2 separate regions of the Homo sapiens genome follow, and region 1 is linked to region 2. Evidence: promoter capture Hi-C in 16 types of primary human blood cells and fetal thymus (Javierre and others, 2016). All regions are on one chromosome and are shown on one strand. The core of a region is centred on a gene start or on the middle of the fragment in contact, and the rest is flanking DNA. Distances in the headings are between cores, read along the strand shown.

Region 1 (2,778 bases), core at 204-2,703, 1.1 Mb before region 2:
TCACTGGGCCCTGCCAGGAGCCGCAGCCGCAGGGGCTGCTCATCATCCAACAGCTTCCGCAAGTACACTGTGAAGGGGAAGTAATGATCAGAGACAGGGCCAGCTGCTCAGCCCCTGCATGCTCAGGTGCATGCGTATATACCCTCACATAGGGCAGGGTGGGGTGGGAAGCCCACCTTGGCCGTGACGCTCAGCGCGCTCAAAGAGTGCAAACTTGCGGGGGTCATCCACCACCAAGAACTTTCGCAGCAGGGCCTCAATGACTTCACGTGCCCTTGTGCGTGACAGCACATGCAGGTGCTTGACAGCATCCTTGGGCAGGTAAAAGGAAGTGCGGCGCCTGACACTTGTGCCCCGTCCTGGGCCCCGCCGGGCATCCTGCAAGGAGGGTGGCTTCTTGCTGGAGGGCACAGAGACAGGGCGCACCAGCTTCAGCTGAACCTTGATGAAGCCTGTGTAAGAACCGTCCTTGTTCTAAAGAAATAGAGAAACCAAACCTTGATAATAGGTTCCAGGTGAGATGTCAGTCTACTTGGGGCTAGGCTGGGTATGCACAAATTACTGCTTGCGCCCACCCAAGATAACCTCAGTTGTGACCCTCTGAGTATCAGGCACATAGCTGGGTACCTGCTCCTCCCCACGCCCCCTTCCTGAGCAGTCAACTCACCAAGCTCATGAAGAGGTTGCTGTTGATCTGGGCATTGTACTCCTTGATCTTCTGCTCAATCTCAGCTTGAGAAAGGTCAGGTGTCTCCCACTCCACAGGCTCGTCCTGCAAGATGGGCCAGCATGGACACAGGGCCCTTGAGGAACCCAGGGCTTCTCTGAAAAATGGCCTCTGGGGCAGTCTTTGGAAACTGACTGCCTTTGGCCCCCTGTCCCTGATGTACATATACATAGCTGGTGCCCACCCTGAACCCACCACTGCTCCTGGTTTTGCATGCTCTGGGTGGATAAGGGAAAGACAGAATCATTTGGCTTCTCTCTGCTGCCTGCCTAGGGCCTCAGCACTGAATGTAGCCTTAAGGATACCACAGAAGCAGGGGCAACTGAAGGCACATGGCCAGGGGCCAGGAACAGCTGAGGGACTCTGAAGAGGGACTCTCATTTAAAGTAAAATCAGGCTGGGTGTGGTGGCTCACATCTGCAATCCCAGCATTTTGGGAGGCTAAGGTAGGAGGATCACTTGATCCTCAGGAGTTTGAGACCAGCTTGGGCAACATAGCAAGACCTCATCTCTACTAAAAAAAGAAAAAAAAAAATTAGCCAGGTGTGGTGGTGTGCCTGTAGTCCCAACTGTTCAGGAGGCTGAGGTGGGAGGATCGTTTGAGCCCGGGAGATTGCAGCTACAGTAAGCTATTATCGTGTCACTGCACTCCAGCCTGGGGAACTGAGTGAGACCCTGCTTCAAAACACAAAAAACAAAAACAGGCTGGGCACGTTGGCTCACGCCTGTAATTCTAGCACTTTGGGAGGCCGAGGCGGGTGGATCACCTGAGGTCAGGAGTTTGAGACCAGCCTGACCAACATGGAGAAACCCCGTCTCTACTAAAAATACAAAATTAGCCAGGCGTGGTGGCACATGCCTGTAATCCCAGCTACTTAGGAGGCTGAGGCAGGAGAATTGCTCAAACTCGGGAGGTGGAGGTTGCAGTGAACTGAGATCGTGCCATCGCACTCCAGCCTGGGCAACAAGAGCGAAACTCGGTCTCAAAAAAAAAAAAAATCAGTAAAATCACACCTCAATTGCACATTCTGATCACAGCACCCTAGTTGAGTTGGAGTGAGGGTTTGTCCTGGAGAAGGCAGCCCATTTTTCTCCTCTGCCCCGGCACGGGGCCATGACCCACTGCAGGGTGAGAGGAGTGGAGAGTGGTGCACATCAGTAGTCCAGCCACCAGTGGACAGAGTAGTACTTGGAGCCAGTTCTCCATGTCTCACACATAGTGAGAAAAATCACTGTGACATGATGTTTAACCTTGACCCAAGCTGCATAAAAGGCAGCTTTAGGCCAGGCTCCAATCTGCCAGAGGTACACAGGCAGCTTCCTGGTGGGTTTCTGCACCTGCCTGTGCTGTCTGGAGATTTGGCCCAAAGATTTTTTTTTTTTTTGAGACGAAGCCTCACTCTGTCGCCCAGGCTGTAGTGCAGTGGCTGGATCTTGGCTCACTGCAAGTTCTGCCTCCTGGGTTCAAGCGATTCTCCTGCCTCAGACTCCCGAGTAGCTGGGACTACAGGCGCGTGCCACAACAACACCCGGCTAATTTTTGTATTTTTAGTAGAGATGGGATTTCACCACATTGGCCAGGTTGGTCTTGAACTCCTGACCTCAAGTGATCCGCCTGCCTTCACCTCCCAAAGTGCTGGGATTACAGGCGTGAACCATCGTACCCGACCCAGAGATTTTTAACTCGACCACTCACTCCCCACCTCATCTAGGGACTGGATTCTTGCCGGAAGGGTGGAGTGTGGGACAGGGCAGCCAGGGCTCTGAACCGACTTTCTTCTCCCAGACTCCCTTGGCCCCACTGCATCAGCCTTACTTCCTGTTGACGTCAGATAGGCCCTAGTTAGAATGCGAGTGTCACAGACACAGCTAAGCTCAGCGCTGACCAATACTTTGTCCCAGAAGAATTCCCACAAGGTTTCCTGTAGAATGATCTTGTGCCTAGCCCAGGAGAGCCAGGGTTCTCCCTGACTCCGCCCTGGAGTCCCCTTAAGCACTTAAACCATCTGATGGGGACAAATGGAGAGGACAGATGAGGGAGCAGGGTGGAG
Region 2 (2,710 bases), core at 5-2,504:
TGTCCCAAGAGGTATTTTACTGTATATATTGTGGTAGCATGTTCAAAATCCAACAAGTAATGTGAATTTTAGATGTAAATATCTGCCACTTGATTTTTTTTCCCCCTTTCCCCACTTCCTTGACTGCTGTGATGTGAATTAAAGATAAATACGTGATACTGATCCACTGAATTCACTGAATGGGAGCAGAGGATGTGCCCCTCTCCAACCCTTGTCGCCGGGCTCCAAGCCCTTTTTAGCCCTATAGACATGTCCTTTTTGCACTGAGTAGAGCCAACGGTTCCCGCATCCTGCCTTGAAGGCAGGCAGCCAGGAGGGCACTTGAAAGGAGGGCAGTCGAAAAGGAAACATCCTCCAGTGCTTCTCTGGTGATTCCCGGGACCCCACTCAGGAGGTCCCACGGCAGCGGGGGACCCCGAGGGCCTAGCCGGGGAGGCAGGAGGAGGCTGGCCAGCCACCAAGCCACGATTCAGAGCTTGTAAGGGCACCTCCCGAGCCCCTCACCTTCCCACTCTGAGGCGACCCCATGTCCTCGACCGATGATCTGGCCCGGGCGCTTCCCTCCACGGTCTAGAGTGGCGGCCCAGCTTTGAGCTTGGCGCGCCTTGAGCCCTTCCTTCAGATGTCCCGCAGTCCGTCCACCCCGCACGTCTCCTATCAGCCTATGCACGGCGGGCTCCGGTCAGGTGGAGGATCAGCAGGTGGGCTTTCAAAGGTTGGATCCGTTGCCCACGCGAATGAAAGAAGAAAAAAGAAACCTCTTTGAGCCTTGCCTGCGGCCGCCCGCCCTTCCTGCCTAACCTGTTGTCTTGGCTGACCCCAGAACTCCTGCACCACGAGTCGGAGTCCGGGCGAGGAGATCAGCAGGGGTTTTCGAGGGAGCCTGGGGCCCAGGGCAGGGGTACGCGGGTCAACTCAACAGATGTAAGGCGTGGCCGAACCCCATTCAGCTAGCAGTACCCAGCCTCAGCCACAGTCGCTGCCCTTACCCAAGATGGCGGCCCACACCGCTTCCGTCGCTGCTGTAGTCGCTTCCTGCGGCCAGCCCGGGTTCAATCAGCGGCCGACAACTGTCTAGGGCTCAGACACCACCAGCCAATGAGGGAGGGCAGCGTGGAGCCGCCCGTCTGGGCTCGCGGCTCCTGGACCAATGGGGAAGTGGCATGTGGGAGGGCGCCGGGGGGCCCCCCGCCAATGGGGAGCTACGGCGCGCGGCCGGGACTTGGAGGCGGTGCGGCGCGGCGGGTGCGGTTCAGTCGGTCGGCGGCGGCAGCGGAGGAGGAGGAGGAGGAGGAGGATGAGGAGGATGAGGAGGATGTGGGCCACGCAGGGGCTGGCGGTGGCGCTGGCTCTGAGCGTGCTGCCGGGCAGCCGGGCGCTGCGGCCGGGCGACTGCGAAGGTGCGGGATAGGGGGCCGGGGGCCGCGCTCCGTGACCGTTCTGGCGGCGGCGCTGAACCCCACAACATCACCAGACGGCCGGGGCCAAGAGGGCGAGGGCGGGGGCGGGGGCGGGGGCGACAGCAGGTCCCCGCGGGGCCTGCATGAGGAGGCTCCGGCGCCCGCCCTAGTAAATCTTTCTTGGGCCTAGAAAACATTGGTCCGACGAAGAAAAGTTGAGACTAGATCCCGTTGAAAACTTGTCCTGAAATCTCCATCACTCCTGAGTTATTGTCCCCACCACCATCTAGAGGTTACCGCTCCCCGTTCGGCGTCGGGAGCTCCAGGGCTGGCCGTGGGTGCTGCGCCCTGTCTGTTGGGATCACGAAGCTGCACCTCTGGGTCCGCTGTTGTATTTGGAAATTAGCAGCAGCATTTTGATCATTTTTCTCTTCACCTTCCAGTCTCTCCATTTATGAGGTCACAGTGAGTCCCGTCTCAAGGACACGTGTTCACCATGGGCTTAAACTTGATGAAAGGAGCAGGGAGAAGTCGTTTATAGGTCATTGGGTGATGCTTGGTCCTTTGATGCCCTGGGTGTACCAGGGGACCCCCGCCACTTGGAACCGGGTTCTGTCTACCTGTAGACACCTGAGAAAAATCGGTGATGGAAAAGCTCACCTCTAATGATTCATCTCCGTGTCTCCTATTAAAATTGCTGGCGGAGTTCTTTTCTGGTGGATTGGAACAGCTTGGTGATTGCTGAGCATCTCCCGTCCCTCTCTTTTCCAGTTTGTATTTCTTATCTGGGAAGATTTTACCAGGACCTCAAAGACAGAGATGTCACATTCTCACCAGCCACTATTGAAAACGAACTTATAAAGTTCTGCCGGGAAGCAAGAGGCAAAGAGAATCGGTTGGTAAGTAGCTGGTGATCCTCCCCAACTGGCCCTGGCTCATGTTAACCCTCGGCTTCACCAGCCGTTTGATAAAAGGCCTTGCCCACCTCTCTGTTCAGGAAGCCAGCTACTCTCTCCATAAACTAATGTGAGAAGACTGAAGTGCTTCTATGTCCTTCCCAAAGCAGCATGTGTTCTGCAACTGTGATTTTTTTTTATCCTGTTAGTCTTTATTAAGCACCTACTATGTGCTAGGCACTGGGAATATCAGGGGAAAGAAGTGACAGTCGGACACACAAATAATGCAATGTCTGGGTGTCATGAAGAAAATGGACCAGCAGGTGCTGATTTAGAGTGGCCAAGAAGTCTCTGAGGAAGGGTTATCATTGAAGTGGGGTAAGACCATCCCATACAGGGAACAGCAGTGTGAGT

What was found. The method cuts DNA at HindIII sites, captures the fragments that hold promoters and counts their contacts. A CHiCAGO score of 5 or more calls a contact.
Region 1: a contact is called between a fragment that was not itself captured here and the fragment with the promoter of MANF in region 2, in 1 of 17 cell types (fetal thymus). The highest score is 6.6, in fetal thymus.

Annotation. Positions count from the first base shown.
Region 1 is chr3:50,331,383-50,334,160 of GRCh38, forward strand. It overlaps RASSF1 (Ras association domain family member 1), which reads right to left. Exons shown (of 6, transcript NM_007182.5): 3 at 668-772; 4 at 177-474; 5 at 1-67. Among named protein-coding and RNA genes, the nearest start is that of TUSC2, 4.5 kb to the left of the region's middle. The HindIII fragment of the contact is 3,617 bases long and covers 1-2,778 here.
Region 2 is chr3:51,384,037-51,386,746 of GRCh38, forward strand. It overlaps MANF (mesencephalic astrocyte derived neurotrophic factor), which reads left to right and starts at 1,255. Exons shown (of 4, transcript NM_006010.6): 1 at 1,255-1,400; 2 at 2,172-2,299. The coding sequence starts at 1,307. It overlaps DOCK3 (dedicator of cytokinesis 3), which reads left to right. Exons shown (of 53, transcript NM_004947.5): 53 at 1-162. RefSeq lists an enhancer at 671-1,020 and a silencer at 1,081-1,450. The HindIII fragment of the contact is 4,055 bases long and covers 1-2,710 here.